Regions from separate parts of the Homo sapiens genome. Here regions 2, 3, 4, 5, 6 and 7 are each linked to region 1. The links are contacts of gene promoters, found by promoter capture Hi-C in blood cells and fetal thymus (Javierre and others, 2016). All regions are on one chromosome and are shown on one strand. Each heading gives the region's core, a stretch centred on a gene start or on the middle of the fragment in contact. The rest is flanking DNA. Distances are from core to core; before and after follow the strand shown.

Evidence for each region. Contacts are between HindIII fragments. The CHiCAGO score rates a contact against its expected background, and 5 or more counts as called.
Region 2: a contact is called between a fragment that was not itself captured here and the fragment with the promoter of LRRC31 in region 1, in 12 of 17 cell types (total B cells, naive CD4 T cells, monocytes and 9 more). The highest score is 13.5, in total B cells.
Region 3: a fragment that was not itself captured here is called in contact with the fragment with the promoter of LRRC31 in region 1 in 1 of 17 cell types (total B cells); the score reaches 5.6 in total B cells.
Region 4: a fragment that was not itself captured here is called in contact with the fragment with the promoter of LRRC31 in region 1 in 9 of 17 cell types (total B cells, naive B cells, M2 macrophages and 6 more); the score reaches 8.4 in total B cells.
Region 5: a fragment that was not itself captured here is called in contact with the fragment with the promoter of LRRC31 in region 1 in 12 of 17 cell types (naive B cells, total B cells, M2 macrophages and 9 more); the score reaches 14.7 in naive B cells.
Region 6: a fragment that was not itself captured here is called in contact with the fragment with the promoter of LRRC31 in region 1 in 8 of 17 cell types (monocytes, M2 macrophages, M0 macrophages and 5 more); the score reaches 9.3 in monocytes.
Region 7: a contact is called between a fragment that was not itself captured here and the fragment with the promoter of LRRC31 in region 1, in 6 of 17 cell types (total B cells, monocytes, M2 macrophages and 3 more). The highest score is 8.5, in total B cells.

What each region holds. Positions count from the first base shown.
Region 1 is chr3:169,868,259-169,871,414 of GRCh38, reverse strand. LRRC31 (leucine rich repeat containing 31) reads left to right here and starts at 1,480. Exons shown (of 9, transcript NM_024727.4): 1 at 1,480-1,782. The coding sequence starts at 1,608. The HindIII fragment of the contact is 9,706 bases long and covers 1-3,156 here.
Region 2 is chr3:170,030,716-170,033,607 of GRCh38, reverse strand. No RefSeq gene overlaps it. Among named protein-coding and RNA genes, the nearest start is that of GPR160, 5.8 kb to the left of the region's middle. The HindIII fragment of the contact is 4,915 bases long and covers 1-2,892 here.
Region 3 is chr3:170,010,314-170,013,457 of GRCh38, reverse strand. No RefSeq gene overlaps it. Among named protein-coding and RNA genes, the nearest start is that of GPR160, 26 kb to the left of the region's middle. The HindIII fragment of the contact is 5,150 bases long and covers 1-3,144 here.
Region 4 is chr3:170,110,135-170,112,984 of GRCh38, reverse strand. All of the region lies in intron 11 of PHC3 (polyhomeotic homolog 3), which reads left to right. All of the region lies in intron 2 of LOC105374209 (a long non-coding RNA gene), which reads right to left. Among named protein-coding and RNA genes, the nearest start is that of PHC3, 70 kb to the left of the region's middle. The HindIII fragment of the contact is 5,579 bases long and covers 1-2,850 here.
Region 5 is chr3:170,088,857-170,091,617 of GRCh38, reverse strand. PHC3 (polyhomeotic homolog 3) reads left to right here. Exons shown (of 15, transcript NM_024947.4): 15 at 1-2,761. Among named protein-coding and RNA genes, the nearest start is that of GPR160, 52 kb to the right of the region's middle. RefSeq lists a silencer at 730-930. The HindIII fragment of the contact is 1,837 bases long and covers 509-2,345 here.
Region 6 is chr3:170,047,004-170,050,113 of GRCh38, reverse strand. The region is part of intron 2 of GPR160 (G protein-coupled receptor 160); the gene reads right to left. LOC124909455 (a long non-coding RNA gene) reads left to right here. Exons shown (of 3, transcript XR_007096156.1): 3 at 1,256-2,677. Among named protein-coding and RNA genes, the nearest start is that of GPR160, 11 kb to the right of the region's middle. The HindIII fragment of the contact is 2,787 bases long and covers 175-2,961 here.
Region 7 is chr3:170,067,482-170,070,582 of GRCh38, reverse strand. All of the region lies in intron 2 of GPR160 (G protein-coupled receptor 160), which reads right to left. Among named protein-coding and RNA genes, the nearest start is that of GPR160, 31 kb to the right of the region's middle. RefSeq lists a silencer at 1,315-1,515. The HindIII fragment of the contact is 6,364 bases long and covers 1-3,101 here.

The DNA.
Region 1 (3,156 bases), core at 231-2,730:
AGGTCATGTTTAGATTTATGAGTTAGCGCCCCTTTCCTTCTTCTTTTCCACCTAACCCCCTGAGACTCTAGTCAGCTGTGCTGCTGTGCATGGAGTAATTGTTTAGTTCCACTGCTGTCTGTTGCTGGGTAAACCAGGGCTGGGCCCTGCTCTAATATGAAAGGAAGATTTTAAAAGAAAAATGGAATGTCCAATTGTGACTTCCAAAGCAGTGCTCCAAGTGCATGGAACATTCCAGCCCTCACGAGTGGAGGTGGGCTCTGCAAGGTCCATTTTTAGGATTCCCTGTGTAAAATGTTTCTTGGACCATTCTGGAACATAATGTTACAGAAAGAGCTATTTTATTAGAGAGGAGACTATGAAAACTGTAATTTCAAGAATACTTCTGCTGGGCATGATGGTTCACACCTTTAAGCCCAGCACTTTGGGAGGTCGAGGTGGGCGGATCACTTGAGGCCAGAAATTCAAGACGAGCCTGGCCAACATGGTGAAAATCCATCTCTATGTCAAAACAAAACAAAACACTTCTGTGTATCCCTTTAGTTTAAGTCCTTAGCCCTCCCATAAAATATAAGCAAATTTCAGGAGAGATAATAGATTGACCTTTACGAATCCTTTTTAGCTTCAATTCATACCAGACCTCACCCCTAACCTCCACACCCCCTGACCCACATCCCCACCTCCAATGCTAGGCTCTTCCAGCCGTTCCTGCCTGGGAGCTCTTGAGCTTACCCTTTCTTCTGCCTGGGATACTCTTCCCTCTCTTAAAAAGCTAACTCGCAGTCCTTCAAAACCCAGGCAATGTCACTCACTGTTCCAAGTCTGTTCTCCAAGGCATGCTTAGTTTACTGTGGGTTCCCTGACCACCTCCCATCTCTTGGCTCTTGTCCCACTCAATCAATGGCATACAGGTCCATCTTCCCACCAGGTTAAGATCCCATCAAAGACAAGAACTGTCTCTTGTTCGTCATTGAATCTTTTGCATTTAGAACATTAACTGGCCCACAGTAGATTCTTTAAAACTATTTATGGAATGAATGAATTCTTTACTGCCAACATGTTTCAGTGGGGTGGTGGTGCAGGGTTGGGGGTAGAGAAAATATGAATATGCAAAGAGAAAAAGGAGCTTATGTGCAAAGGAAGGAGGTGGGGGTCACCAGAAGGCAGAGGTCGCTGAAGGCAAACTCCTCTGGGGACAGCTTTGCAAATGGCCAGTCCCTTTTAAAGGCATATTAAGTCTTCAGGTAACTAATTGACAGCTGTAATTTAAGATGTGTTGACACACTTGATGTGCTTGCCAAAGTCATGCTTAATGACTTGTATCTCACACAATGAAATAGGGCAAAGTTAAAAACTCAAATTGCTTTGAGTTTGTATTGGCTTCTGGATCCTGGGTTACATCATTCTTATTTTCATGTTAAACATTAACAGCAATAAAAAAACAGAAAAAGAAAGGTGGTGCGGCAGGGAGTGGGGGGCAGTCATGTAGGGGAGGATATTTTGATTGAACACAGGCTTGACAGAATCTTCTTTTCTTCTTAGAAATCCTAGAAAACAGAAAGCAACAGGAAGATGTCTTATTGGGAACTACCCCCATCAACTTCACCATGAGTCAAACAAGGAAGAAAACTTCCTCAGAAGGAGAAACTAAGCCCCAGACTTCAACTGTCAACAAATTTCTCAGGGGCTCCAATGCTGAAAGCAGAAAAGAGGACAATGACCTTAAAACAAGTGATTCCCAACCCAGCGACTGGATACAGAAGACAGCCACCTCAGAGACTGGTAAGCTGCTGGCTGCTGGTGTTTTTGCTGTTGTATTTGTTTTGTTTTTACTTCCACATTTAAAATATTTTTATTTTTAATTTTTGTGGGTACATAGTAGGTGTATATATTTATGGGGTATATGAGATGTTTCAATACAGGCATGCAATGCCTAATAATCATATTGTGGAGAATGGGGTATCCATCCCCTCAAGCATTTATCCTTTGTGTTACAAACAATCCCATTATACCTTTAGTTTTATTTATTTATTTATTTATTTTGAGACAGAGTTTCACTCTTGTCACCCAGGCTGGAGTGCAATGGCGTGATCTCAGCTCATAGTAACCTCTGCCTCCCGGGTTCAAGCGATTCTCCTGCCTCAGCCTCCCGAGTAGCTGGGATTACAGATGCGCACCACCATGCCCAGCTAATTTTTGTGTTTTTAGTAGAGATGGGGTTTCACTGCATTGGCCAGGGTGGTCTCGAATTCCTGACCTCAGGTGATTTTCCTGCCTTGGCCTCCCAAACTGCTGGGATTACAGGTGTAAGCCATCACACCAGGCCTCTTTTAGTTATTTTTAAATGTGCAATAAATTATTGCACATTTAAAAATAACTAAAAGAGCACAACGGGTTGTTTGTAAACAAAGGATAAATATAGTCACCCTGTTGTGCTATCAAACAGTAGATCTTATATATTCTATTTTTTCTGTACCCATTAACCATCCACACCTCCCCCACCAACAACACACACACCCTTCCCAGCCTCTATGTTTCTTTATTTTTTAGAGTTTTCTTCTAAAGTGATCTTATGGGTTAAACTAAAGACTTTAAGACTTTTGAGACTAAAGACTCAACTATGAGTCTCTGTGCTAATCATTTATTATGTTACTTACATGCTTTAAATGATTCATAATTTTACTTTTAAATTGTTAAAAGCAATATAACACTACAGAAAAATGTAGGGAAAATACTGAATTTCCTTTCATTATAACACAAACGATCATTTCTTTAAGATTCTTTTCAGTCTTTTCTTTTCATATGCATGCATTTATGTTCTGTCAGTCAGCAGTCAATAAATCTTTATTGAGTGCTTGCTATGTAGTAACCCCTGCTCTAAGTGTTAGAAATACAGCCATGAAAAGGACCAAATGCAGATATAACTTCAGGTGGTGATAAGTGATATGAAGAAAAATAATGCAGGCTAAGGAGACAAAGAATGATGGGATGGGGTGCTATTTAGATGGGGGTGGAGGAAAGAAGTCTTCGATTTGGAGGCATTTGAGCAGCAATCTGAATAAAATCAGCTTTGCTGAATGAATGAATAAAGCGAGCCACTTAGGTATTTGTGCAAATAGCTTTCCAGGCAAAGAGACTGTACATGCAAAGGCTTTA
Region 2 (2,892 bases), core at 154-2,653, 160 kb before region 1:
CTGGAGGTGGAGCAGTAGTCTTAGACTCTGGGACAGCCCACAATAAAGGTGGAGCCGCACCCACCTAGCTGTGCCTAGCTCCAGATGTCTTACTACACGAGAAAAGCAACCCCCTTACTTGTTTAAGGTCAGGGTTTGTTCCATGGAATTGAATATAATCCCACTAGATATACTATTGTTCCCAAAGAAAAGCCTTGTCACCTAAAAATAAAATCCTAAGCCCCCCACCGACTGAAAAGAACCTCTCTTGGCCAAGGGGACCCCAGAAAAGCCTTAAACTGAGTTCCTGGCCATGACAAGATGGGAGGTCAACCACATCTCATTATACCCCTCCCTTTTATGGTTTAGACACAACTGACCAGCATTAATGTTAAAATAGAGATCATAAGGCTGACAGAATAGACTCTTTGTGGCAATAAGATACCACATTATAAACAGGACATAGGCCTGTGTTCTAACTATATTATGTGAAAGGAAAATATCTTGAGGCCCCCAAATCACTAAGCTAAAAGGAAAAGTCAAGCTGGGAACTGCTTAGGGCAAACCTGCCTCCCATTCTATTCAAAGTCACCCATTAGTCACTGGCTAGTATAAATGAAAGAGCCTAATCAGAGGCTAATCAGAAACTCAAAAGAATGCAATCATTTGTTTCTTCTCTACCTATGACCAGGAAGCCTCCTCTTTCTCAGGTATCTGTGTGAAGAGACCACCAAACAGGCTTTGTGTGAGCGACAAGGCTGTTTATTTACCTGGGTGCAGGTGGGCTGAGTCCGAAAAAGGAGTCAGCAAAGGATGGTGGATTATCATTAGTTCTTACAGGTTTTGGGATAGTCGGTGGAGTTAGGAGCAATGTTTTGCGGGCAGGGGTGGATCTCACAAAGTACATTCTCAAGGGTGGGGAGAATTACAAAGAACCTTCTTAAGGGTGGGGGAGATTACAAAGTACATTGATCAGTCAGGTTGGGGCAGCAATAAATCACAATGGTGGAATGTCATCAGTTAAGGCTATTTTCACTTCTTTCGTGGATCTTCAGTTGCTTAAGGCCGTCTGGATGTATACGTGCAGGTCACTGGGGATATGACGGCTTAGCTTGGGCTCAGAGGCCTGACATCCTCCCTGCTTCAAGTTGTCCTGCCGTTCCAGACCGAGCCAATGTTCATCTTACATGTGTTGACTGATGTCGTCTCATGTCTCCCTAAAATGTATAAAACCAAACTGTGCTCTGACCCCCTAGGGCACATGTGGTGAGGACCTCCTGAGTCTGGGTCGTGGGCAGGCATGCATCCTCAGTCTTGGCAAAATGAACTTTCTAAATTAACTGAGACCTGTCTCGGATTTTTGGGGTTCACAATTATAAGGGTTTTCTTTTTCTGTAGCAGCTAAACAAGCACTGACCTTGAGATAAGCAATATTAAAACTATTTGCGGCTCCGTCAGATGCTAATTGATCCTCAGCCCCTGTCCCATCAGCCGTAAAACCACAGCTTTGATTGGACAAGAGACTGATTTCAGTAACTTTCTCTTAATAAGACCACTGACCATGGACTGGTTCTAGTTGGTTTACAGAGGTCGTGCTCTTTTTTGTATCCTGAAAAGATACTTTGATGTGTGTGTCCGAATTGTAATACATTTCAATGTTAAGTATCCACTCCAAAATGAATGTATGTTACATGCATGTTTGTTCAGTACGTGTGCATCAGGACTACCATGAATATTCATTGTTGGGAACAGGCCCTCCAAAATCTGGTCATAAACTGGCCCCAAAACTGGCCATAAACAAAATCTCTGCAGCACTGTAACATGTTCATGATGGCCATGATGCCCACACTGGAAGGTTGTGGGTTTACCAGAATGAGGGCAAGGAACACCTGGCCCACCCAGGGCGGAAAACGGCTTAAAGGCGTTCTTAAACCACAAACAATAGCATGAGCCATCTGTGCCTTAAGAACATGCTCTTGCTGCAGACAACTAGCCAAACCCATCCCTTTATTTCGGCCCATCCCTTTATTTCCCATAAGGAATACTTTTAGTTAATCTACAGTCTGTAGAAACAATGCTTATCACTGGCTTGCTGTCAATAAATATGTGGGTAAATCTCTGTTCGAAGCTCTCAGCAGCTCTGAAGGCTGTGAGACCCCTGATTTCCCACTCCACACCTCTATATTTCTGTGTGTGTGTCTTTAATTACTCTAGCACTGCTGGGTTAGGGTCTCCCTGACCGAGCCGGTCTTGGCAATTCATAGCTCCTCCTGTAACCTGTTGAATATGTATGTTTAACCAACCCTTTGAGGAGCTTTATTTTAATCTCTCCTCCTTCAAAGTGCCTGTCTCTGATCTTGGCCAGAGGCATGCTTCCCAGCCTGCACAGTGGTCGCCTTGAAGGCTGTAATCCTTAAAAAAAAAAAAAAAGTCTCCTTCACCGTTTCTAATTTTTTTTTTTTTTGAGATGGAGTCTTGCTCTGTTGCCCAGGCTGGAGTGCAGTGGCGCGATCTCAGCTCACTGCAAGCTCCGCCTCCCGGGTTCACACTGTTCTCCTGCCTCATCCTCCCAAGTAGCTGGGACTACAGGCGCCCGCCACCATGCCTGGCTAATTTTATTTTTTGTATTTTATTTAGTAGAGACGGGGTTTCACTGTGTTAGCCAGGATGGTCTCGATCTCCTGACCTCATGATCCGCCCACCTCAGCCTCCCAAAGTGCTGAGATTACAGGCGTGAGCCACTGTGCCTGGCCAATCTTTTCTAAATTTATAAATCGTGTGATTTTTTTCAGTTAACAACCTTAAAAGTCAATCTAGCCAACCTTACTTAATACAGGGCGTTATAGCAGGAAAAGGATGTGCTTTGACATAAGACAACCCAAGTTCGAGTTTCAGACCTTCCATTTATACTAG
Region 3 (3,144 bases), core at 434-2,933, 140 kb before region 1:
ATAAAAAAAGATGGTTAATAACAAGTGTTCATGAGGACATGGAGAAATTGGAACCCTCATTCATTGCTGTAAAAAGAAAATGAATTTATTGTAAAAGTTTCAGTGGCCCCAAGACTTACTGGAAAAGCTGGAGAATCAGGCTCAAACGGTGGGAAAGAACAGAGGAAACCACACTGTGAGAACCAAAGCCAAAGTCAGGACACAGGAGGTGTTGCCAGAACACTGGTGCTTCCTTCAGCAGTGCAGGCTTGAAATGGTTACCTTCTCACACAGCGGATGAAGCCAGCATTAGGCAGGATTTTTAATCCGGGGCTACCTAAATCCAAAGCCACACACTCTTTTCTGAGTTTTCAATTTCTTTATAAGTAAAATGAACACAGAAGGCAACTATGAATAATGATGCCACAAGGGATTTAGACAGCGTCCCTAAGTGCCAGATGCAATTTAAGAGGTATTATTATTACATACAGCCAGAATCTACAATCATATCTCTGTCTCAAACAACTAATAGCCGAGGTTGCCAGGCAATTATATTTGTCAGGCACGAGTCTACAGTGAGCAGGTAAATGATCTACACCCCAGACACAATAAAAGATTTAGTCCCTCCTCCCTTTTGTACTAATCTCCAGCTCAGATTTTCTGATCCTATTCTGTTTGCCTCCATTTCGAAAGCCCTTCCCTCATCCTGTATTTTTACCACCTGGTTCTATGTGTCACCAAATCTTCCTTATTTGCAGTCAGCTTTGTGAAAGAACTTTCAATGCTAGTTACTCTAGAACAACAACTCTCACACGTTTTGGGCTCAGGACCTTTTAACTACTTTTAAAAATTATTGAGAATGCCAAAGAGTCCTGTTGGTGTGGATTATTTGCTGCGGTTAGAAATTAAAACAGGCAGCTAAGCGTGGTGGCTCATGCCGGTAATCCTGGCACTTCGGGGGGCTGAGGTGGGCGGATCACGAGGTCAGGATTTCGAGACCAGCCTGACCAACATGATGAAACCCCATCTCTACTAAAAATACAAAAATTAACCTAGTGTGGTGGTACGTGGTGCCTATAATCCCAGCTACTCGGGAGGCTGAGGCAGGAGAATAGCTTGAGCCTGGGAGGCGGAGGTTTCAGTGAGCCGAGATCACGCCACTGCACTCCTGCCTGGGTGACAGAGAAAGACTCCGTCTCAAAAAAAAAAAAAAAAAAAAAAAAAGAAAAGAAATTAAAACAGGCAGTGGCTCACCCTGTAATCCCAGAGCTCTGGGAAGCTGAGGTGGGAGGATTGTTTGAGGCCAGGAGTTTGAGCCCAGCCTAGGCCACATAGCGAGACCCTGTTTCTACGAAAAATTTAATTAGCTGAGTGTGGTGGCACATGCCTGTAGTCCACGCTACTCAGGAAGCTGAGACAGGAGAATCCCTCGAGCCCAGGAGTTCGAGTTAGAGTGAACTATGATCATGCACTGTACTCCAGCCTGAGCAACAGAGTGAGACCTAGTCTCAAAATAAAAGAAAGATTAAAACATAAATTTTTAGAAACAATAATAAAAGAGGACACATTAACAGAAATAACATGTCTATGAAAAATAACTTTTTCAGAAAGAAAATGTTTGTGAGATGAGTGGCTGTTTTACATTTTTAACAAATCTGTTGAATATCTGGATGAATAGAAGAAAGCTAGATTCTCATGTCTGCCTCCGCATTCAATCTGTTCCCATATCACACTGGAAAACTCCACTTATGCTTGTGAGAGAATGAGAGTGAAAAGGCAACAACATCAGTATTATTACGAAAATATTTTGACCTTAAAGATATTCTGGAAAGAGACAATCAGGAAATCCCCCATCACAAGTTGAAAATTGATGCCATTTTTTTTTTTTTTTTGGAGATGGAGTCGTGCTCTGTTTCCCAAACTTGAGTGCAATGGTGTGATCTCAGCTCACTGCAACCTCTGCCTCCCTGGTTCAAGCAATCCTCCTGCCTCAGCCTCCTGAGTAGCTGGTCTTATAGGTACACGCCACCACGCCTAGCTAATCTTTTTATATTTTTTGTAGAGACAGGGTTTCATCATGTTGGCCAGACTGGTCTTGAACTCCTGACCTCAGGTGATCCGAGGCCACCTTGGCCTCCCAGAGTGCTGGGATTACAGGTGTGAGCCATGGCGCCTGGCCCCAATGCCATTTTTGATGCTCTTTTTCCCTTTGTGTGGATTCATTTTTCCATCTGTTAAGAAACTGTAGCCAGGTGTGCTGGCTCACACCTGTAATACTAGCACTTTGTGAGGCAAAGGTGGGAGGATTGCTTGAACCCAGGAGTTTGAGACCAGCCTGGGCAACATAAGGAGACCTCTTCTCCACACACACACAAAAATTTTAAATTAGCCAGGTGTGAGCAGGAGCGGTGGCTAACTCATTGTAGTCCCAGCACTTTGGGAGGCTGAGGTGGGCTGATCACCTGAGGTCAGGAGTTCAAGACCAGCTTGGCCAACATGGTGAAACACCGTCTCTACTAAAAATATAAAAATTAGCCAGGCGTGGTGGTGTGCACCTGCAATCCCAGCTACTAGGGAGGCTGAGGCAAGAGAATAGCTTGAGCCCCGGAGGTGGAGGTTGCAGTGAGCCTAGGTCGTGCCACTGTCCTCCAGCCTGGGCAACAGAGTGAGACTCTGTCTCAAAAAAATATTAGCCACATGTGATGGTGCACACCTGTGGTCCCAGCTACTCAGGAGGCTGAGTGGGAGAATTGCTTGAGCCTGGGAGGTTTCAGCTACAGTGAGCCATGATCGCACCACTGCACTTTAGCTTGGGTAACAGAGTGAGACCCTGTCTCAAAACAAAACAAAAAGCCATCAAACTGTCTTCCAAAGTGGCTATACTATTTTGTGTCTCCACTAGCAATAAATAAGAGTTCCTGCCGTTTCCCATCCTTTCCAGGATTTGGTGTTGTCAGTGCTTTGGATTTTGGCCATTCTAGGCAAGATGGGGAATGTTCAGGGTGGCATGGCCGTAGGTTATTTTGGCCATTCTAATAGGTATGTAGTGGTATCTCACTGTTTTAATTTGCAGTTCCTTAATGACATATGATGTAGAGCATCTTTTCATAGTTTTTTTTTCATCTGTGTGTCTTCTTTGTTGATGTATCTGTTCGTTTCTTTTGC
Region 4 (2,850 bases), core at 118-2,617, 240 kb before region 1:
TTCTGGGTTGTTTCGTTTCAGACTTTCTGCATGCTGATGTTTGACATCAGGTGGATATTATAATTGTATTAAGTATATACTCTTCATTCAAGAGGTGGTTACATTTGTTCAACGAGAAAACTCCTTTTTTATAGACTTTATTCTAATAAAGAATGAAATAAGGCCAGGCACGATGGCTCATGCCTGTAATCCCAACACTTCGGGAGGCCGAGGCAGGCAGATCACTTGAGGTTAGGAGTTTGAGACCAGCCTGACCAACATGGTGAAACCCCGTCTCTACTAAAAATACAAAAATTAGCCAGGTGTGGTGGCATGCACCTGTAATACCAGCTACTTGGGAGGCTGAGGCAGGAGTATTGCTTGAACCCCAGAGGCGGAGGTTGCAGTGAGCTGAGATTGCGCCACTGTGCTCCAGCCTGGGTGACAGAGCAAGACTCCATCTCAAAAAAAAAAAAAAAAATAGGCCAGGCGCGGTGGCTTATGTCTGTAATCCCAGCACTTTGGGAGGCTGAGGTGGGTGGATCACAAGGTCAAGAGATCAAGACCATCCTGGCCAACATGGTGAAACCCCATCTCTACTAAAAAAAAATATATATATATATATAAATTAGCTGGGCCTGGTGGTGTGTGCCTGTAATCCCAGCTACTTTGGAGGCTGAGGCAGGAGAATCGCTTGAACCAGGGAGTCGGAAGTTGCAGTGAGCCGAAATTGTGCCACTGCACTCCAGCCTGGCGACAGAGCTAGATTCCGTCTCAAAAAAAAAATGAAATAAAGTAAATAGAAGTCCAAGTGGTATCCAAAATGACTGAAGGAAAGCAAACAAAAATGAAAATGAAAACGGTATTTTATACCTTGAATTTGCTATTTAAAAGCAGCAAAGTTTTTACTGTTTTTTGGGCTGAGATTCTGAATTGCCGTGTTCTATAGGAGCATCTTTTTGATCATGGCCCTTCAGGTGATAGAGTTCAGTTTAATGCAGTAGCATTTAGAATAGTCAAGGCCCTGTAGTAGTGAATTAACACTTGTGTCTAAGTAATTATCCTCAATGTATTAGTATATTTCATTAAAATTAATTTATTCACTTTACAAATATTTATTGAGCCTATACTGTGTGCCTTTACTTCGCTAAATTAAGCGAAATAGCATGCTGGTAAGCAAACTAGATACTGTCTTTGCCCACAGATTTTCTAACTTAAAAGGATGACATCTCTGACATTGTTAGCTCTTTATAAACTGTTGCAACATGTGAATCACCGTTTTACTTCTTATTTGAACAGCAAGGAGTATATTAGTTTAAAATTTGATTTTTACTACTTATTCTGAGTTCAGTTTGATTGGTTTTAATTTGAAAGAATGTTAACCTTGAAAAATTTCAAACATTCATTAGAATCGTATAATAAATCCCCAGTCACCCAGACTCAACATTATCACCCAATTTCAACATTATTTTGCCACAGTAGCTTCATTCATTTTGTTTCCTTCCTCCATTCCTAACCCCCACCCTTCTTTTTTCTTCTCTCTTCTCCTCTCTTCTCTTCTCTTTCCTTTCTTTCTCCTTCCTTCTTTCCTTCCTTCCTTCCTTCCTTCCTCTTTCTTTCTCTCTCTTTCTTTCTTTTTCCTTCCTTCCCTTTCCTTTCCGTTCTTTTGTTCTTTCGTTCGTTCGTTCCTTCCTTCCTTCCTTCCTTCCTTCCTTCCTTCCTTCCTTCCTTCCTTCCTTCCTTCTTCTTGTTTTAAAGAAAATCGTAGTCACCGGTACATACGTCAGTGTGCCTCTCTCAAAATAATACACATTTCCTTATAATGCCATATCACACATAGCAAAATAATAATTCTTTGGTGTTATATAATACCTGGCCAATATTCATATTTCCCTAACTTTTTAAAGTCATTTTATAGTTATTTAGTTAAATCAGGTTCCAAATAAGGTCTGTATTGTGCCTTTTGTTTTTGTGAATTTCATTTCCTTTAATTCTCAAATACTGTCTTTTAATTGCACATACTATTTTATCTGAGAGCATTCTCATGTGAAGTGAAAAGTAACAAAGAATGTGCAGGTATTCTTTTTTTCTTGGCCTATATCTACAATATGTATATAAATGAAAGTTCTAGGCTAAAAAGTATTTATAATGTGTCTCCCTGTGTACACAATAGGAAGAACATGGAAATCTGCTTAGGAAACTTTACAACATATAGTGTGATCCTCAGTTTATAATATAATGGACATATAGTATATGTTAGACTATTCTAGAACATGACAGGTTATGTATGTATATATTATTTACATACATAAAGAAGTAAAATACAATCCGCTTTCCCTCCAGCAGCTTTTAATGTAGTTTGGAACTAGGAATCTAGGGAATCTCCATACAGAAAGGTAACGAAGGAGCTACAGATGGTATAGTCACACTGAATTATATAGACAGAATTTAGAACTTTAAAACTGGCTAAGATTATTCCTAGTTTGGTGGGTTTCCTATAAAAATGAGATTTGAAGTGGGTCGTGGATTTAATGCATAGATTTAGGATAAACAGCGAGAACATTTCAGATTAGAACACTAAGTAAACGCACTAAGAATGTGTAAGTGCTAGGTAACTTCGAGAGAGGGCAGTGAAGAGTAGAGGGTTGGATTAGAGGGGTAGTGGGAAGTATGACTGGCAGAGTGAGTTTCTGGAGAACCTTGGATATTAGACAAGCAAGTTTGAAGTTAGGTGGATGGTTTGAAGGTGGGTGGATAGTACTGAAGATTTTTAGGAAGGTGTTACGAATAAAAGAGTGTTTTTGGAGACTTTGATGGCCGTCTGTAGGATGTATGTATAAATTTTGCATGTAATTGACACCTGTAGTCATG
Region 5 (2,761 bases), core at 178-2,677, 220 kb before region 1:
TGCACACACCCCTTCCAAGTGTCATGTTTATGGGAACATTTGGGAAATGTTTTCCAGATGTTTTATTTTTTCCCTTTTATAGTTTGTTGACATTTAATTTTACTTAAAGATGACAATTTTAATCGGAAATGTTAGAGGTACAACATAGTGAGGTTCTAGCTAGCTTTATACTTTTGAAAAATATTTTTGTTTCTACTGCTTTTTACAAGTACTAGTCCTCTCAGTGATACTGGTGGTGTTCAGTATGAATCCATAGAAAGAAAACAAAATTTGTTGTTTAAAAAAAGCAGAGTAATGAATGAATTTCAGTTTTGAAAACAACATAATTTGAAAACACTGTTATACTAACATGGCAAGGTGTTAATTAAATATAAGAGTAAGGTAGTAAGTTCTTTTAGAGCACCTGTTTAAATTTACTCCAGTAATCATCTTAAGGATTGATAGTCACCATCACTTATTGGCTTAAAAGTTATATTTCATGGAATATTATCAGTGTTAAATCCAAGCTTTGTGGAGCTTTAAGTGATGGTGGTGAAAAAGTTGGTGTTTATGAGAGAGTGGTGGGGTGTCTAGTCATTAGTGAAGTTAAACATCAACCTGTTTTAGAAAGAATTTTTTAGTCTTGCCTAAAGTAAACCAGAAGTGTCTAGTGTTTAAATCTTTATTTAGAATGCTTCTCTTAAAAGTATTTTTTGTTTTGGGTAGTATTAAATAATCAGTAAATAATCTATTTCAGTAGTAAATAATGAATTAAGATGATGATGAATGAGGATTAACACACTGGTCTGGAGACTGGGGTTTTATTTCAGTGGGTTAGCTGTGTGTGACATGTTGGGCAATTACTCAGCTGTTTTAACAGCTTCCAGATATGCAGTATGGTGCCTGTACTACTCAAAAGTTGATTTTGGTTTAATTCATCTTTAAGGTACCTCCCAGCTCTAAAACTATGATTCTAGGCTGTGTAATGGGGTTATTCCTACTTTATTCTCTTTCCTTTTTTAAGGGTTCATTTTATACTTAATAAGCATCCATTTCTTGGGTCACCTACAGTCTTTGTTCTCCTAAGGATTAAAATAGAAAATTCATACATAACAAGCAAATGATGACATTTTCCTAAATGCTCCTTATTGGTTAACCACTGAATATATGAACACATATGAATATTGTCATTCATGTACTTAAATTCATTTAGCAAACTATTTGAACACTTACATGTGCAGTGTTTGGTGAACATGACATGAGGAACTAGTAGTAAGTAAAATCTTCCCCCCAAAATTCATTGTGGCTTAAATAAATATGAACATAATCATTACTACTTAATATACTGAGAGGGAATCTTAATAAACTTGGAACTGGGAGGGAATATTTGTATACATTGGGTAAAGGGTTAGGCTAGATGACATCTAAGGGGTCTGAGTGAATCATATCATAATTTTTATAACACATTTCACATACTAAACATCAGTTGGCCCCATACCTGATTAAGTTACAAAATTTAGGAGACTTAACATTAAGGACTTACAGGTTGAGACAGCCCGTATTTCACAACATTATTTTGACACTTGACTCTATTCCAGAGTTGTTGCTATACAAGGCATGTGGCAGAACAAAAAAAAAGCTGGTGTTGATATAAGAGCTTTTTACCCAGTATTGACAGTGAGCAACTTTCTTTCTTTTTTTTTTTTTTTCTTTTTTTTTTTTTTGAGATGGGTTCGCTCTGTTGCCCAGGCTGGTGTGCAGTGGTGCGATCTCAGCTCACTGCAACCTCCACCTCCCGGGTTGAAGCGATTGTCTTGCCTCAGCCTTCCAAGTAGCTGGAATTACAGGTGCCCGCCGCCACACCTGGCTAATTTTTGTATTTTTAGTAGAGACGGGGCTTCACCATGTTGGCCAGGCTAGTCTCGAACTCTTGACCTCAAGTGATCCACCTGCCTTGGCCTCCCTAAGTGCTGGGATTACAGGCATGAGCCACCACACCTGTCCGACAGTGTAGCAACTTTCTAAAACTGAAAAATCTCAAAGGAGATCATTGGAACTGACTTGTTCATTTATTTTTTGTTTTTAAATTAAGAAAGATTACACAAAATAAGTGTTACTGTACTTTAAGCTATTACAAATATCCAACTTTTAAAGATATGTAAGAATCAGTAATATTCTAGAAAGCACATATATAGTAAAAGGGCATCCTTTAAATGTAGAACGGGTAAACATGAAACAGTTCCATGCTTGAATTGTTAAGTATCTAGGGGGTAAACATTGAATGGGAGAATCATTTATTGGGTTAAGGTCCCTTCCTTGTCATTCTGGGATCTGTGAATCACATTGTAATTCCTGTTGACAAAGCTTTACTTGTTAACATCAGTTGATACTGACATTCTCCATAAAGATATAGAATGAAAATATCTATTAAAAATAGTTTATCATTGTTTTAGCTTTTTTGTTTTGTTTGTTTTGAGACAGAGTCTCACTGTCACCCAGGCTTGAGTGCAGCGGTGTGATCTTGGCTCAATGCAACCTCCACCTCCCAGGTTCAATAGATTCTCCCACCTTGGCCTCCCAAGTAGCTGGGATTACTGGCATGCACCACTATGCCTGGCCAGTTTTTTGTATTTTTAGTAGAGATGGGGTTTCACCATGTTGGCCAGGCTGGACTCGAACTCCTGACCTCAAGTGATCCGCCCACCTCAGCCTCCCAAAGTGCCGGGATTATAGGCATGAGCCACTGCGCCTAGCCTGTTGCAGCTTTTTAAAGCAGGAAAAT
Region 6 (3,110 bases), core at 319-2,818, 180 kb before region 1:
CACTCCAGCCTGGTCAACAAGAGTGAAACTCAGTGTCAAAAAAAAAAAAAAGGAATTGTCTGAGTGTACCTTTTAGAATAAAGTTTACTTAATATCAGGTTCCTGGTCTGCTGGTGAGAGGAAAAAAGTATTAGAGAACCCAACAGTCTCAGACTCGTGAAGCAAAAACAAGCTTGGCAGCAATCAGGTCCGGCACATTCCAGACTCACCAAGTAGTCATTTCAGGCCTCCACCACCTGCTCCAGCTCCCAAGCCACTGGAAGACGGGTGCCGGGAGGAAAGGCTAAACTTTGTGGACACACCCTGAGGAAGGCTGCTGCCTGGTCAGTGACATCTACTGTGACTCAGGACTCAGGCCAGGAGGAAAGGAGCACCACCACCACAGGCAGCTTGCCCATCCTTCCGTCACTTCCTTTCCATTCCCCCAGGTCCCCTTAGAGTGACCCTCAGAGTTGGCTCTACACCAGCCCTGGAGGCGTGATGCGAATGAGGCATGACCCTGCTCCCTGGAGTCTGTCTACAGACCACACTACCCAGTGTCTGGGAGGGCACCATGTCAGGGCACTTTGTATACTCCTGCGGCATTTTAAGGAGGGTTTAAAACGTTCATGCCTTTTGACCCAGTGTCTGCACTCTGGTAACTTGTCATAAGGAAATAATCTGGGTTGAGGGAAATAATTACTGCGGAAGCAGTTCACTTTGGCATACTTATAATAGCCCACAGTATACCCTCCCCAGTCCCCAAAAGAATCAAAACAACTTAATGTCTAACAATAGGGAATGAGTCAAATGAATTATCAGACAGTCATAAGATGGATTACCACCTGCAGCCATGAAAGATAAACTTGAGAGAAAAACTAAATAACAGGAAAATGCTGACAATATAATGTTAAATGACAGATACAAGATAAAGCTGTGTGTAGCAGGGCTTCTCATAGGGGGATGAGATGAGATCCTGCTGATCCCTGAACCGGTGTTACTGAGGGGAGCCTGCTCTTGTCCTTACACGGTCTTACGTTAAGGGAGACAGGAGGGTGCAAACCAGTGGTAGACACAGTGGTACATCCCAGTATCAGGGAAATAGGAAAAATGTACGTATATTCACAGATCAGAGGTAATTAATGCCAGCCCACCGTGACTGGTAAGGTGGTGGCCTCAGGGACTAAGACTTCCGAAACTTGAATATAGATCTTGTTAAAAGACAGATTCTGATTCAATGTCTGGGGCAGGCCTGAGCTTTTGCATTTCTAACAAGCTCCCAGGTGATGCCATGCTGCCAGCCGACAGGCCACGCATGGAGCAAGCCTGAAGAGGACATTTGTCCTGGAGGGGGAGAACCCGGCGACACAAACAGCAACTGGTTGGTGAGAATAGAGGTACATGTTTACTTTTTACACTGTCCTGTATCTTCCACAATACAAATCTGTTGCTTTTGTGATAAGAAAGAAAACTTTCCAATGTTGAAAACCTTTGACTCAGTACTTATTTTTACAGGAATCCATCTCAAATAATGTGAAATGGGATCCAAGGTTTATGTGCATTCAAATTGGAATGATGTACAACATCAAAAAATGAGCAACAACTTAGTTCTCTAATATTTTAAAAGAATGGCTAAAAAAGCCTAAAATAGCATGCAGTCATTAAAAACATTTATAAAGACATAGGGGAATACAATGATTTTTTATTTAAAAAAAATTTTTTAATAGCTTTAGGTGTACAAGTGGGTTTTGGTTACATAGATGAACTGTACAGTGGTAAAGTCTAGGATTTTAGAGTACTCATCACCCAGGTAGTGTACATTGTACCTAATAGGTTGTTTTTCATCCCTCATCCCCTTCCCATCCTGCCCTTCTGAGTCTCCATAGTCCATTATATCACTCTGCATGCCTCTGTGTACCCATAGCTTAGCTTCCACTTACTTACAAGTGAGAACATATGGCATTTCGTTTTCGATTCCTGAGTTACTTCACTTAGAATAATGGCCTTCATGGGCATGGTGGCTCACGCCTGTAATCCCAGCACTTTGGGAGGCCAAGGCGGGTGGATCACCTGAGGTCAGGAGTTCGAGACCAGCCTGGCCAACGTGGTGAAACCCTGTCGCTACAAAAATTACCTGGACATGATGGCTGATGCCTGCAATCCCAGCTACTCGGGAGGCTGAGGTGGGAGAATCGCTTGAACCTGGGAGGTGGAGGTTGCAGTGAGCCGACATTGGGCCACTGCATTCCAGCTTGGGTGACTGAGCAAGACTTCATCTCAAAAAAAAAAAAAAAAAAAAGAATAATGTCCTTCAGTTCCATCCAAGTTGCTGCAAAAGACATTATTTTGTTCTTTTTATAGCTGAGCAGTATTCCATGGTGTGTTGTGTATGTGTATATGTGATGTGTATATATGTATGTGTATATGTGATGTGTATATACATATATCACATATTCTTTATCCACTCATTGGTTGATGGACACTTAGGTTGATTCCATATCTTTGCAATTGTGAATTGTGCTATGATAAACATATGCATGCAGGTGTCTTTTTGATATCGTCATAATGATAAATTTTAATCAAAGTATAGCAACTATGTTAAAATTCTAACATAAAATGAATTGTTTATAAAATGTTAAAATTTTTTAAATTTATAAAAAAACAAAGTAAAACAAAATAAAAAGGAAATATACCCAAATGTCAATGCCTTCAGATCCTTGGATTGTGGGTCATAAAAGACTTTTCCCTTTAAACCTTTCAGAATACAGTAAAGTTGAAGGCAGGCAGGATCAGGAGGCAAGGGCAGCAATGGAAAGTAGCTGAGGCCATAGGAAGAAGAGAAAACCTTGCGGTGAACAGGACAGTGCAGGCTTGGGGGGATGCGGTGAGGGTGTGGCAGGTACAGACTACACACTGAAACACCTGGCTGGAGTGCAGGAGAAGGACGAAGGGTTAGGTGAAGGTAGGATGGACTCTGAAGCTTTGGGTCTGCACCTGGGGCAGGAGGGAGAATCCAAAGCCTACTGCCTCTCTTCCTCCCACTGCCCCCTGCTGAAGGGGACCAGGCAAGGGCTGTCGACAGGGGAGACCTCTGCCCTGCTGCTTGGAGGGGAATCACTGGCCCTCCATTC
Region 7 (3,101 bases), core at 451-2,950, 200 kb before region 1:
AGAATAGTAAGTGAGGTGATGTTTACTTTTTTTGGAAGTACTCTAGCTAATATGAGTGAATAAGGAATGATAAAATTTGGAAACTGCCCAATTTGCCACCTCTGATGTACTAAATGGAGGTAGCCAAAGATCATCAATACTAATACTGAAAGGTGGAAATTGAAGAGTACCTTGCTATCTACAAAGTGGGCTTGCCAAAAAATTAGAACCCGACCAAACCTGTAGATTCAACTACTGATGTTCAAGAAAGAGGACAATAACTTATTTAATGACCCCACAGGATGCAGTAAAGAAAATCCACATGGTGGTATGCTCTATAGGATTACAATTTGTTACTTCAATAAATTGTTTCAACAACAATACAAAAATTAAGACTTAGGATATATCAACTAAGTGCAATGTGTAGAATTTATCTGAATTCATGGCAACAAAGAATTACATATATAAGACAATGGGAAATTATGGTATGATGGGCTGAATTATATCCCCCCAAATTCATATGTTGAAGCCTTTAACTCCCAGCACCTCCAAATGTGACTATATTTGGAGATAGGACCTTTAAAGAGGTAATTTGGACACACACACATGATACTAGGGATGCTGGTACACAGAGAAAAGGCTGTGGGAGGGCACAGCGAGAAGACAGCCATCTACAGGCTGCAAAAGGCCCCAGGAGAAACCGCCCCTGGGACACCTCGATCTCACCCTTTCAGCCCCCAGAGCTGTTGTTTCAGCCACCCAGCCTGTGGTGGTTTGTTATGGCAGCCCTAACAAATTAATATGTGTGGTTATATTTAAATCTCACTATTTAAAATAATACATACTAAAATATTTACAGATGAAATAGGTTGTCTGGAATTTGCGCCAACATAATGCAGTGTGTGTGCTGGGGGTCGAGTGGATGAAAGTATAGATGGGGCAGGATCGACCACTGGTTAATGGCTGTTCTAACTATTTGTATGTATGTTTGAAAATTTTCATAACTTTAAAAAAAATGTACAAATCTCCAAGGACAAAATTTCAGAGGCTGGAAAATGAACAGATGGACGGTAAATGAGTGAGCCCCATCTACACAAAGTGTGGTCCAAGCATCACCTAGGAGACTGCTATTCACATAGACCCTCAGGCTCCAGCTCAGATCTATGAAACCAATCTGCAGTTTTAATAAATCCTCAGGTGAATCACATACAGTGAATACAGACTGAAGCTAGCAGTGGAGAAAGCAGAGTCGCAACCCAATTTATACCTCAGGACCCTCAAAAATCTCAAGAGTGGCTGACCCAAGTGTCTTCAGAAAGGGATGCAAAGATGGGGATAAAAACAGATAGATTCGTTGCAAATGAAATAAGCAGTTAGGTCCCCAGATCTCTTCCCTGACTCAGTGCAGCAAATGACTCCCTCTCCAACTGCGGAGTAAGAATGAGGTTTTCCCCTCTGGGGAAGATAAAACAATCTTTGGACGGTAGGCAGAGTTGAGGATTAGAGGAGCATCATACTGATAACAGGGAGACTGCATAAAAATACATATAGCGGAAGTTGAGACCTCTCCAGCCTTTTTACAGTTGGATTTCAGGAATACTATTATTACAAGATATAAAGACTCAAACAGTTCTCTCTAGGCATCAGCCCAGGAAGAAATATCTAAAGATACTACATTGAATCTTCCCTGAAGAAACAGCCTAGATACTGCCCTACTTATAAATATGACTGGACATCCAAAGATCCTCAGACATTCAAAGAAAATCTCTAGTATTGAAAGTTAAACAAATCCACAAGCAGAAAAAAGACAACTTGGAGGAAATAGACACAATGCTAGATAGAAGAAAGCTATTTAAAAACTCATTGTTTTCAGGGAGAAAATATTGCATCCATACAAGAAGAGGAGGCTATTTATAATAACAACAGAAAACAAAAAAGACCTCTTGGAAAATAAAATATGATGGCAGAAGTAGTAAGGTAAACAGAGAGTTGGAAAATAATGTTTGGGAAATTTCCTAGAAAAAGTGAAATAAAAAGAGAAATAGTTAAGAAACATGGAGGACCAATCCAACAGGTGCAAACTCTGAATAACAGGAGTCACAGAAAGAGAGCAAACTGGAGGGGAAGAACTCAAGAAAAGGCAATAATGAGCCAAGTGCAGTGGCTCACACCTGTAATCCCAGCACTCTGGGAGGCCAAAGTGGGTGGATCACTTGAGGTCAGGAGTTTGAGACCAGCCTGGCCAACATGGAAAAACCCAATCTCTACTAAAAATACAAAAAAGAAAAATAATTAGTGGGGCATGGTGGTGCACGCCTGTAATACCAGCTACTCAGGAGGCTGAGGCAGGAGAATAGCTTGAACCTGGGAGGCAGAGGTTGCAGTGAGCCGAGATCACACCACTGCACTCCAGCTGGGTGACAGAGCAAGACTCCGTTTCAAAAAATAAATAAATAAAAATAAAGAGTGTTTCAACTTATAAATGAAACGTAAAATTTAGACTTAGAATTCCACCATCTTGCAACAACTTCTCCCCAACCCACCACCCACGTAGACATTTTAGCACCTGTACCTACCATCATCTCAACAGGAGAGACAACCAGACATTTTGTGCCTCCTATATGGCAAACCTGAGTTTCATTAAATCTCTGAATCCAGCTGCCAGTTTGCAAGAAATAGAGGATTGAGGGATATACTGAGCTGAATCATGAGCATGCAATTAGCAAGACTCACACTGTGGAAAACCCTATTGGTCAAGGAGTCCAGTTCTTCAAGAGAAAAACAAAGGGGAAAAATGGAGAAGTAATTTAGAGAGTAAAAAAACACATCCCAGATAACTTTTTTTTTTAAAGGTAAGACTAAATTGGAGTCTCTAAAGATATGCATTTGGGTGGTAAAACTTCTAAATGCAAAGAAGTGCTGATGACTGTAAAAGTGAAGTTATTTTGGGGGAAGCGAGGGACTGTGATTGCAGAGGTCACATGGAAGGGGCCTATTGGAGCAAAGTTCCTGCTCTTTACCTGAGAGGTGGTGACATGGGAATGGGGGTCAGGCTTTTTGGAAACACTGGAAGCCAGAGATGCCTTCAATTCTAAGGGACTGATCAAACTAGAAGAAAAAAA